Regions from separate parts of the Homo sapiens genome. Here all the other regions are linked to region 1. Evidence: promoter capture Hi-C in 16 types of primary human blood cells and fetal thymus (Javierre and others, 2016). All regions are on one chromosome and are shown on one strand. The core of a region is centred on a gene start or on the middle of the fragment in contact, and the rest is flanking DNA. Distances in the headings are between cores, read along the strand shown. Region 1 holds the start of ADAMTS16 (ADAM metallopeptidase with thrombospondin type 1 motif 16). Region 2 overlaps ADCY2 (adenylate cyclase 2). Region 3 overlaps ADCY2 (adenylate cyclase 2).

Evidence for each region. Contacts are between HindIII fragments. The CHiCAGO score rates a contact against its expected background, and 5 or more counts as called.
Region 2: a contact is called between a fragment that was not itself captured here and the fragment with the promoter of ADAMTS16 in region 1, in 2 of 17 cell types (naive B cells and total B cells). The highest score is 11.2, in naive B cells.
Region 3: a fragment that was not itself captured here is called in contact with the fragment with the promoter of ADAMTS16 in region 1 in 3 of 17 cell types (naive B cells, total B cells and naive CD8 T cells); the score reaches 19.0 in naive B cells.

What each region holds. Positions count from the first base shown.
Region 1 is chr5:5,138,912-5,142,993 of GRCh38, reverse strand. It overlaps ADAMTS16 (ADAM metallopeptidase with thrombospondin type 1 motif 16), which reads right to left and starts at 2,664. Exons shown (of 23, transcript NM_139056.4): 1 at 2,455-2,664; 2 at 2,228-2,330. The coding sequence starts at 2,526. It overlaps ADAMTS16-DT (ADAMTS16 divergent transcript), which reads left to right and starts at 2,940. Exons shown (of 4, transcript NR_109915.1): 1 at 2,940-3,038. ADAMTS16-AS1 (ADAMTS16 antisense RNA 1) reads left to right here. Exons shown (of 2, transcript NR_198969.1): 2 at 623-856. RefSeq lists an enhancer at 2,892-3,458. The HindIII fragment of the contact is 3,896 bases long and covers 486-4,082 here.
Region 2 is chr5:7,819,214-7,823,295 of GRCh38, reverse strand. It overlaps ADCY2 (adenylate cyclase 2), which reads right to left. Exons shown (of 25, transcript NM_020546.3): 24 at 2,607-2,731. Among named protein-coding and RNA genes, the nearest start is that of CFAP90, 30 kb to the left of the region's middle. The HindIII fragment of the contact is 2,198 bases long and covers 894-3,091 here.
Region 3 is chr5:7,752,403-7,756,484 of GRCh38, reverse strand. All of the region lies in intron 15 of ADCY2 (adenylate cyclase 2), which reads right to left. Among named protein-coding and RNA genes, the nearest start is that of CFAP90, 97 kb to the left of the region's middle. The HindIII fragment of the contact is 4,872 bases long and covers 1-4,082 here.

The DNA of each region.
Region 1 (4,082 bases), core at 1,415-3,914:
CAGCTTTCCCAGCACCATTTATTAAATAGGGAATCCTTTCCCCATTGCTTGTTTTTGTCAGATGTGCCAAAGATCAGGTGGTTGTAGATGCGTGGTGTTATTTCTGAGGTCTCTGTTCTGTTCTATTGATCTATATATCTGTTTTGGTACCAGTACCATGCTTTTTTGGTTACTGTAGCCTTGTAGCATAGTTTGAAGTCAGGTAGGTAGTGTGTGACACCTCCAGCTTTGTTCTCTTTGCTATTTTGTAATTACTTCAGCCACCAAGAATGATTTGCAATAATAGTTTGAGTCATGCGCTACTTTAAACAAAATGTATGGCTACAATTAGTTATTTCAGAACCAACTTGTCTAATGGATACCTAGACAGGCAACAGTAAGTTGACCCCAGCAGTCACCAAGTGTCTTCTAGCTCTTCTGCTCCAGGTCAGAGGGAAACAGGCAACACTGTTGAGGAGGATCTTTTCTCTGGTGGCATAAAAGCTTGTTGTGGATGTCCAGACTCACACATTAGCCATTTATAATTAAGGAGCTAAAGTGCATAGAAGGTAGGGGAGGAGGGTGTGTGCTGTGTCCACTGGGCTAGAACTTCACTAAGAAGGGTTTGCCTCTTCCCCTTCAGGTTCTTACCAAGCCAGATAAGTGGTTGTCATGGAGACGATACGTTGTGACAACAACTGTGGTGCCAGGTGTTCAGAGCAGCACACTGGCACCCCACTCCCAGAGAGGATGCTGAAGCAGATTGAATCACTTTAGGAGAAAAGCACACTTAGGCACGAAGCCCTGGCTTTTCTTCTTCTTTCTTCTGTGTCTATAATGTGTTTTATCTTAAATAAAACTTCATAAATGCCATAAACTATTGTGGAAATCTCCTGAGTCCCTCTGGAATTTTCATGGTTTTAGGGAACTAGAATTTTTTTTTTTTTTTTTACAAAAATCTTACTTAAAAAGGTGAATTAGAATTAACCTTTAAAATTGTAAGAATTAACTTTTAGTATTGTAAGCAAAACCCTAAAAAGGACAAGGACAACCACAAGAGGATAGTCTGTAAATGGACAGATAATTAACTTTCTCTTGTAAATTCACTGTGACAATTTTTTTTAACATTTTATATCATTTGCACCTAGCGCCCCCTGGTGGTTCTCAAAAAGGTACTATGGTGAGCGTCAATCTGACACCGGTCACCTTATATACTATTTGTGTACTCATTTGGCAGGGAATAATTTCAAAAGTTAATGCATATATTAAGTGCTTGCCTTTATGTTATTTTATCAAATTGAAATAACTATACTGAGAAATTCTGAATTGTTAACTTTAATTTTCTAGATCTTCTGGAAATACATTGAGAGAATGAAACCTAGTTCTTCCTATAAAAGTCAATTAATATTAACATTTGATACGGCAATTTATTGTTGGTAACAATGCAAAATAATATTTATTAACTGTCATTGGATGGGTTCAGGTTAAAAAACCACCTAGCAACCAGTGCGACACACCTGCGTTCTCATTTACCTGATGCAGTATGAAGACACAGAGATCCCTTTCCATAAGACAGCAAATTTCCAAATGTCACTTGTAAGTGGCAGAAGTAAAAGCATGCATTGAAAAAGAATAAGACTTGCCCTCATGTCAAATTGTGGCCCAGGATATGAACGTTGCTGATGGTGTCACAATCAGCTGATTAGCCATTTCAGGCACTATTATGTTTGAAGTACGCCCTGATTGTTGGAGCATTAACTTTGGTATTGAGATGCTAAGCGCTTCTTTTATCTCCTTCACTGAGAATAAGCAACGATAGAGGAATATTTTAATCTATAAAGGAGGAGAAGGAGGAAAGGTTGGGGACGGGAAGGAGGATCCGAGGATGTAGAAGGGGACGGAAAAGAAAGTAATTTGCTCTTTATGACGGCTTTGATGCATACATTAATAGCTTTAGATTCTTCCTAAGCTCTTTAGAATAAAATAAAATGAACTTCCTCACCTTTTTCCTAATGTTATATCAATAACTCTGGCAAACCGTTTTGCCAGGGAATAAAATGTAAATATTGGTGGAAATCCACTCATCGGGGCTCGCTCATACAGTTAAAAAAAAAAAAAGTTCACAACAGCATCTTAAAAGTAGGGTTCCACAGAGTCGTGAACATTCACAGCACCTAATAAACCAGCGGCACGGAGATTACGAGCTGCTAAATGGCAAGGATTAGAAGCCCCCACCTCACGGACTTACCGCCCTTTTCCATCCAGCCCGGCCGCTCCGCGGGTGGAGGAGGACGCGGGACGCTCGGGCTCCCAGGCGCTGCCGCTGCGGGTCCCATGGCGCACGCAGGTGCCTGCGGAAAACAGCGGCGACATCGCGGTGAGACGGCGGGGTCCGCGGGAGAGGAGCCGCGGGGGACTCGCCTCCAGCTGTCCGGACCCGCGGTTTCCGCGCTGGTGGGAGCGCCCGGGACTCACCTGCTCGGCCACCTGCGCCAACAGCATCCACAGCGCCGCCAAGCCCCGCCATCCGCGCGCGCGGGGCTTCATCCAGGAGCGCTCCGAGGGGCTAGGGGCCACCGGAGGGTCCCCGGCCGGCAGCGTGCGAGCGGGCAGGGAGGACCCGACCCAGGCAGAGCGCGGGAGGATTCCCCACAGCGACTCCGCCGCCGCGCCGGGGTTATTACTGAAGCTCCGTGCGGCGCGGGGGGCGGAGTGGCAGCCGCGGCGGCGGGGGCGGCGGGAGCGGTGGGAGAGCGCGGGGCGGGCAGGGGAGAGAGGAGGGGAGGAGGTGAGGGCGGGGGGGTCAGAGGACCGAGGAGGGGAGAGTGCAGGGACAAAGAGCAGAGGGGAGGAGGCGAGGTCAGCGGGGCGCTGAGGCGGAGGCGAGCGGGGAGCAGAGGGAAGGCGGGAGACAGCGGGCAGCGCCAGAGGAGGAGGACGCGGGAAGATGGAGCTGCCCACGGCCTGCAGTCCGTGCCTCTCTGCCCGCGCGGGGACCACACAGTTGGAGAGGCTGCCGGGCACCGGCGCGGGCGATGCTCAGCATGGACCTCCGGCCGGTGCGCGCTCCTGCCCTGCCTTGGGGCTGGGGACTCGGCGGGACTCCAGCTACTGCAGTGGCTCCGCGGGCTCCCACCTCCGGGCCGCACCGGCGCCGCCAGAGGCCGGGACACCTGCAGCCCGCGGAGTGCGGTCTGGCCGCGCCTCTGTGCCCGGGCACAGCTGTGGGGACACTGGGTGCGGAAAACCGGGCGCCAGGACGTGGGAGAGCCGCGGACCTGCCTTTAAAGGCGCGTGCCTCGCTCTGGAGTTTGCGGAGCGATCGGAGACGGGGAGGCTGAGGAGGAAACTCTTCCCCCGCGCCATTTGCCCCGAGATGTGGCGGCGCTCCTGGCCCCGCGGTCACGGCCACCCTCAACTGGCCAGGCCGCGGAGGCCGGTGACTGGCTGCTGGGTGCAATCCCTAGGGAGGTCTCAGGGCTGCGGATGGGCCTGGGTCTCGGCCGCCACGGGGGTCGATCGGGCTACTGTGTGGACAGGGTGGCCAAGGAGGCAGCAGGTGTGCGGTCAACAGCCTGGCCAGAATTCTGCTGTAGCTGGATGGGGTGTGTGAGCGCGCGGGTGTACATGTGCCTGGGTGTGCGCGGGTGTACATCCACACCTGACTGCGTGTGCGCGAGTACACGCTGTGAGCCCATAGTGTGTCTGGAATTGGTGGGTTCTTGGTCTCACTGACTTCAAGAATGAAGCCGCATACCCTCGCGGTGAGTGGGTACAGCTCTTAAGGTGGTGCGTCTGGAGTTTGTTACTTCTGATGTTCAGATGTGTTCGGAGTTTCTTCCTTCTGGTGGGTTCGTGGTCTCGCTGGCTCAGGATTGAAGCTGCAGACCTAGGCGGTGAGTGTTACAGCTCTTAAGGCAGAGCCTCTGGAGTTGTTCGTTCTTCCCGGTGGGCTCGTGGTCTCGCTGGGCTCAGGAGTGAAGCTGCAGATCTTCACGGTGAGTGTTACAGCTCATGAAAGCAGAGTGGACCCAAAGAGTGAGCAGTAGGCCGGGCGCGGTGGCTCACGCCTGTAATCCCAGCACTTTGGGAGGCCGAGGCGG
Region 2 (4,082 bases), core at 743-3,242, 2.7 Mb before region 1:
TGGCAATGGCCAATTTGGTTGGAATATTTCCTCCCCACCTCCCATTAGTTTTCTTTTATCTCTTCCTTCTCTTGGTTGGACTTTTACTTACTTTGTAGCAAGTGTTGACTCAATCTGAATAAAAGAAGGCAGATACTTAGAAGTAATGTTTCCTCCATTCCATACAAAAATTAAAGATATCCTTTAGAAAGACCAAAGGAATGAACGAGATGGGGTAAATATGAAAGGCAGGTAAGTCGAGGTTTAATAAAAAGCCCATTCTGACAACAATGGAGGGGACAGTCTTTTAAAGAGGAAAGGACTGTGCCAGTCTGTGCAGTCAATTTTAGGAGGCAAGGCTATTCGCATGTCTTGGCTAAGCTGAGACACACACTATAGGGATTTATCAAAAGCCCAGAGGACCACCATGATAAATCTATAGTGCAAGTCCGGTGACTTTCATATAAATTTTCCATTTAGCAGAAATTCATTTTCCAGAATGTAACATAACGGGGGTGAAACGTGAATCCACTGCTTTCTGAGAGTGAGACAAATAGAGTGTTCAGCACAGACACACACACACACACACATGCATGTACACACACATGCACACACGCTTCTCACTTGCAGATCCCAGCCCTTCTCTCTGGGTGTCTGGAACTGTGTACAATCAGGTGTATGTGTTCCAGCTGCTGATGATCAGCTCACTGATGAGCTCACTGGAAGGCAGATTGAATTTCACTAATTTCTAGCTATTAATAGAAGCAGAATTTTGAAGAAGGCAAGGAAGGACCATAAAACCTTGGTATCTCCAAGCTCTTCACTGAAACACATTCTGTGTTGCTAGATGTTTGTGCCTCTGAGGGGGACAGATATTACACTGGCGTGTCATTTTGTCATTATGATAGCAAGCTTCAGGATAGCTTCTTGGTGTAATAATGGTAAAATTGAATGAAATTCTAGTATTAACCAAAATATATTAAGTGGATTTGGGTGTGGGTTCAATGATGAAAATTAAAAAGATAATCTCTAACCACAGTTTAAGCAAAATTTCCAAACCATGATACAAAATGGCTTTTGCTATAAATATATTTAAAGTTACATCTAAACCTTGTGAACATGTTTACCATTCTACATATATTATCCAAGAGTATAATGGTAGATTTAAAATGTAATGACATGCACCTCTTTATCTTCTTCTTATTCTTTTCTTAGCTGAGATCCCCTTCTTTCTTCCGAATACTGGAATGAACTGTAGCTTCCTGTTTCCACTCTTGCACCCTTCCTTCTTCACTTTTCTCCGTTAATGCTGCAGATGTTGCTACTGAGCTGTGAGCCCACTCTCCAACCACACACTGTTCCAATCTCCTTCCTTCACCGGGGGAACCTCAAACCACCTTTATTTTCACTGGTCCCCTCACTCCGTTCTTCCTGTGAGCATTGCCCCTGTTCAGGATAATTCTTGAACGCAGCCTTGAACTCCCTTCCCCTTCTGCTCCATCAGCTCACTTCACATCTGAAAAGGTGGTCTTCACACACTGTCTCCAGTTCCACACCTTTCTTACTCACACAGCCTGTCGTCTGAAAATCGAGTTCTCCAGAGCCTTCCCCAGCCACACAGGCCAGCTGAAGTCCTCCAGCACAGTCACACTTGCAGTGGCACCACTGTGACTTCTGGTGGCTAACGGTCATCTCCAAGAGAACATTCGCTGTACAAGGGCAAAGTTGAGTTTGACTTGCTCATGCTGTAGCCACAGCATCTAGTCAGCACGTGGGAGGAGCACAGGACGTGGGTGCGGAATTATTGAAGAACAGGCTTGACCAAGCTGCCATCTTCGTAGCCTCCCTTGTTTCTCTTCCCGCTCTTCCTTGATTCTGTCACTGTCAACCTGGGCAGAACCACTGCTCTTTTGTAACTGGGGGGATAGTTTCAGCATAGTTCTAATAACAGATTTTTTTTCTATTATCTTTTCAGTGATTTTAAAATACTTTTAAAAATACAATATTATTAGTGCTATTGTAATATAGTTACTTTAACCACGATTATAATTGATTTAATGAGCAATGGGAATAGTCACATAAAATAATTTTAGTTTTCTCCAACCACTGCTTTTCATTTGTTACACCTTCCTTTCTCCCTCTTGGGTGGATTCCAGAGCTGCCATTCATATCAACCTTCTGTTTCATCTCCCACCTCTCCGAAGCCTACCACTTCCCCTCCTCCCAATTCAGCTTGAGAGAAGAAGGTGAGGGGTTGTGTCTGGTTTTGGTTGCATGTGATCCCTCTCGTTTGCAAAGTCCTTTTTAAGGTATTAGCACCAGGAGAAGTAATAAAGGTTCTCCTGTACTGAATGCTCAGGGCTGTTGTGCCATCATGCTGGTTGCTGCTGGATCATTTGTTTTCACAAATATAATAGCCTTTATATTGTTAGAATTTTGTTGTTGTTGTTAACAGTCAATACAGAAACTGACATTTCCCCAAAAATTGTTCTCCAAAAGATAAGTAAATTTCAAGGTTTACTTTTTTCCTTTGTTTTAATATATTAGTATCCTTATTATACTTATTTATGGTTCCCAAGAGAACAGACATGGTTGATGCAGGCAGCGCAGACCACACTCTGCATTACCTGTATTTTGTCCAGGACTCCGGTGCTGTCCATCCTACTGGCCACATTGACAGTGTTGCCCCAGATATCATATTGTGGCTTCTGAGCTCCAATCACACCAGCTATCACAGGTCCATGGTTAATACCTGTGCCACATCAGAGTTGAGTTAGCAAGATTCATCTTATAACCATTGTCTTTTTATTTTTTTTATTTTTTGAGATGGGGTCTTATTCTGTCACCCAGGCTGGAGTGCAGTGGCGCAATCTTGGCTGACTGCAACCTTCACCTCCCAGGCTCAAGCGATCCTGCCACCTCAGCCTCCCAAGTAGCTGGGGCTACAGGAACACACCACCACACCTGGCTAATTTTTTGTATTTTTGGTAGAGACAGAGTTTTGCCATGTTGCCCAGACTGGTCTCAAACTCCTGAGCTCAGGAGATTCACCTGTCTTGGCCTCCCAAAGTGCTGGGATTACAGGAGTGAGCCACCGCGCCAGGCCAAAGCTTCCCCTTTGCAATGGAAAGTTAGGTCAGGAAACAGCCCCAATACTGTTCCAAGCAGTACCTTTGCAGGTACAGAAGAGGTAAGAAATAAATTCTCCTTTGATTTTGTGGCATACTCAGGAAAACACACTTCTGGTTTAGGCATCTCAAATAATTTATTCCAGCTCTGGCACAGGTCAGAGCACCCAGGGGTCAGCCGCTGGACACTGGCCTGCGGTTCCAGCCTTGCATCTGTCAGCTCAGCTTTTCTTCTGGCCACTGCTCATCCCTGCTTGGTCAGCAGCTCTGGGGGTGGGGAAGAGCCTGGACTGATTATTGCTGGCAACATGGCCATCTCTAGTTAGTGTAGGAGTGTGCTTGATTTGTGGTTCCAACTGATTCTACAGCTAGATATGCTGAAAAGGATGCTAGGAGTGAATTCACCTCATTATTTGTCCCATCGCTTTTGTTGGCAATATTATTCTTCCACTTTGCTATCCCTGAACTACCTCTGGATGTCACAGTGCATGGAGGTCAAGCAGGGAAGTCCCCTCCTGGGAGAGACAGAGGGTCGGGGGAAAGGGAGAATCAAAGGCCAAGTGAAACGTTGAGTTCAGGCTTCCTTAGAAATCTAACAAGGCTGATATATGGGGTTGAGGGTATAGACTTTATCAGTTATTGGACAATCAGGGTAAAGTAGACATTTAATGTCAATAAACACCACTGGAAGGAGGTCCATTCAACAGTTCGCGTGAATCTGAACAATATCACTGAAGTCTAGACCAGGAAAATGGCACGTTGGAGGTAGCACATATGACTGGCAAATAGCCGTTCTGGTCCCATGCTGCAGTGCAGGGCAATATGATTTTGGTCTATATAAGTTTGATAATAGAAGAGGTCATTCTCCCATTGCGATAGTTAATACTAAATGTCAAATTAATTGGATTGACAGATGCAAGGTACTGTTCCTAGGTGTGTCTGTGAGGGTGTTGCCAAAGGAGATTAACATTTGAG
Region 3 (4,082 bases), core at 1,178-3,677, 2.6 Mb before region 1:
CTCCATTGTATGGATCTATACTTTTTTTTATCCATTCATAAAATGGACACTGAGTTGCTTCACCTCTTGGCTGTTGTGAATATGCGGCTATACATATCGGGGTTGGGGAAACTTTTTTGATACAAGAAGGAATTGAGATCTTTGGGGAACGACAGCCAGCATTTGCTCCCCATTCACCATGGGGTCTCAGTGCATAAGCTCACCCATCTTGAGGGCCACCTTTCCAAGGATTCTCACCATATTCTCCCAGGTATGAGTGTGGAGCAGTACACAGAGTTCCACTGAACTGTGGGTGACATCAACTCTGCCTATGCAGATGCTGCGTGGGCATAATTTGCATACGTTATCTGATATGAGAAGCAGGAAGTAAAAGTCCTCCAGGGATTGACATTGTTATCTTCACACTAACGGGCCTGTGGTCCCAAGGCTATGTGTCTTGGAAACAAAACAAGGTGATGATTTCAAGAAATTCAGAAGAAGGAATAACATAAATTATGCCCTTTGATCGATACTACCAAGTTAACCTATTGGCAAACAAAGCTGGTGTGACATCAGTGAAATTCAAATTCAAATAAAGAATATTCCTGAACAGCACAAATAGGCTGCGCTTTCAGTTCTCTACTTCTTTCACATCTTATTTTTGTATTGTTCCTAAAATTATTGTTGCCCTAAGCATTGCTGTATGTTCAATGTTGATACAACAGTTGAATGATCGTCTAAACACAGGAGAGAGGAGTTGAGAAGGTTAAAGAATCAGCCATGGCCTAGCTTCAAACCTCTACTGCTGGGAAACTTGCGCAAATTAATGATCCTCTCTGAAATGGGGTCCCAGTTTCTTCCTCTCTGAAACGGGGATAATAACAGTACCTGCCTCCTCTGTCTTTGCAGAGGTTTAAACGAGTTAGAGAAGGTGCGTGCAACAGGACTTACAAGTGTTAGCTCTTCCTGTTATTTCAATGAAGAAAACACAATGTTTCTTAGAAACATTTTAGTGACCAAAATCCTATTTCCTTTATATCTATGTAAACAACAACAAAATCTCCTCCTCTCTACTCCTTTCCACCATGTTTTTTTTTTTCTTCCTTCCAGCTCCTGATAGGAAAAGATGAACAATGTTTGTGTACAGCGCACATGCCCCCCTGAGGGAGACGCAGGACCAGGTTCCGGGTTCACTTCTTGGGCTGATTTTCCTGCGCCCTCGTCTCATTTCTCTGAGTACCTACCAGGGAGCTTGAGCCACTGCTGCCCTCAGCCGCACAGGCTGCCCAGAGCTGGACTGCTGACTGGCGGCAGGGGGCGCCCTCGGCCCAGCTCTGCAGGACATCTGATCACCGGCAACAGAAGAACCAGATCTGTACTTGACGCTTCTACTTAAGAGCAGGTTTGGATAGGGGTTGGTGATGGCAGGAAATCTGTCATGCAGCAAGATGTCCCTTAATGCTCTGAACATGCAGCATCTTAGAGGGTCAGGTAGCCAGAGAACATCCACCCACGAATGGTTATCATTATTGTTTAATGCATGCTACTTCTAATAATACTAATATCACAAAACACAGTCAGATCTGTGTTCCGTAGAAGAAGGTTTTTTGTTTTGTTTTGTTTTGTTTTTTCTTTTTTTTTTTCCTGAGACGGAGTCTTGCTCTCTCACCACTCAGGCTGGAGTTCAATGGCACGATCTCTGCTCACTGCAACCTCCGCCTCCTAGGTTCAAGCGATTCTCCTGTCTCAGCCTCCTGAGTAGCTGAGTTTTTTTTGTTTGTTTGTTTTGTTTTTTGCCATTACCTTTAAACCGCAACTACTTTTGCACCAACCTATAATACAATATGAAGAGCCGAGCTTCAAATGAAATATTATGCTCATCTAGCTCAGATTCCATTAGATAATGGCATTTGGTTTGATTCTCACAAATTAAGACAGTATTTATATATTCACATCCAGATTGACTACAGTTAGTACCTTTAAGAGAAAATTATTAAAATCAATGCTCTTATATTTGTGAAATTATGATAATTTCTGTACACAGAAATTATCAATAGATATGATAATGAAAATGTTAACAGTAGAACATTTAAAAAGTTTATTACTTCAGGGGAAAATGTACATCTAGCTAAGATTGCATATCACTGTCAATTAGGTAAAATATTAGCTAGTTATTACACAGACAAATTTTTGAAATTACAAAATTAAAACAAGTTACTGTGTTTGAAGATTTAGAAAAATACGTGGTGATAATCTTGTCAAATATGCTAATCTAATAGGAATATGTTATATTCTGCTCATAGGCTAGTAACTTACTAAAACAGACCCGGGCAGATATGCAGGAATTTTTTTCTGTTCGTGTGACATGCCAGGCAAAATGACGAATCGGCAGCACTTGCAGCTACTTACTAGACGCATGGGGGTTTGGCAGACATGGGTTTGGCACAACAGGTTCAGGATGCGCTTGGTTCAATTATTCACCCATGCATTTTCCATGCATACCTCAAAGTTCTCCCTCACAATTGTTTTAAAACTTATGCCAAATGTGTTGTTCCAGAGGTCAGGGAGACAGGCGGTATCTTTCCTTGTCACCAAGCAGTGACAAGGTAAGTAAACCTGTTCTGAAGTGTAAAAATTGGTAGGCATTGCTGCTGGCAAGGACAAGAAAGTAGAAGAGAACAGAGAGGTGACAGTTGCAATGACAGGGATGAAAGAGGAAGTGGAGGATCAAGCTGGTGGGGGGAGCAGAAGAAACCAATGATGGGGATAAGAGGAGAAACAGGACTAAGATTCTAAAATGGAAGGAACCTGATTAAGAAAAATGGAGACCCTTGATTCAGTGTGTAGCTCTGTAGAAAAATTACAACTTGGCTCTTGATATGATCATTGGCTTCAGTTTATCCTGTTTTTGATTAAGTATTAAAGGCTCTGGTGGAAAAATGTTTATCAAAATTCCGACCATCCTAATTAAATGTTATAAATGACAACATCTCAAAAAATATTTTGGCCTTTATTTGGAAGATACTATTCAACTGAAAATGAGAAAATGCCTGCTGTGAGCCCAGTCAGTGGAGTCATTTTCTTTGATCTTTGGTTTAACTCCTGGCATAATTTCAACCACATCTGTTTCCTCCCTTCCTTGATCATCTCACTGAACCCCATGATCGGCTCTTACTTACAGTGAGCTCACCGTGTACCTTCTAGAAATGCACTTGGATGTGAATATCACATTCATCCATTAACAAACAAGGGATTGATACTAAATGCAGTGGGAGATGTAATAAAAGAAGAAATATATAGGAAAATCCTAGCCAGGCACTGTGGCTCACGCCTGTAATCCCAGCACTTTGGGAGGCTGAGATGGGCAGATCATGAGGTCAGGAGTTTGAGACTATCCTGGCCAACATGGTGAAACCCTGTCTCTACTAAAAAGACAAAAATAAGCTGGGTGTGGTGGCGGGTGCCTGTAATCCCAGCTACTAAGGAGGCTGAAGCAGGAAAACTGCTTGAACCCGGGAGGCAGAGGTTGCAGTGAGCTGAGATTGCACTACTGTACTCCAGCCTGAGTGACAGAGCAAGACTGTGTCTCAGAAAAAAAAAAAAAAAAAAAAGGAAAATCCTATCATAGAATTGATGATGGGGACAACGAGCAGTGGGGTGTGGTAGGAAAAACGTGGGATGAATCCCAATGTTCTTAATCCAGTACATGCAGATCTTCCTCAGAAAAACAAAATGTTCATACATGCTCCACCAAAAATATCAGCCAGCTTCTCTTCCTTCCCTCTCTCTTTCCTTTTTTTTTTCTTCCCTTGTTTTGATCCACTTGCAATGGAAACAACTGGTAGTCTCTCAAATTAAGTTAAATCTAAATTTTTCACTCTAAAATTAATTCTTCATAATTTAACTTAATCATTATAAAAGTAGACTTCATTTACAGTTTCATTAGTTTCCATTTTAACAATAAGATGAGACACTTGAAGAGAAGTAGAAGCTCATATTAAGTGAACTTAATAAAATGAAAAAAAAAATCCAGAAAAGTTATAAAGATATCAGAGTGGCTGAGAAGCAAACTTTTATTATTAGAAAAACGAAATCCATCTTAA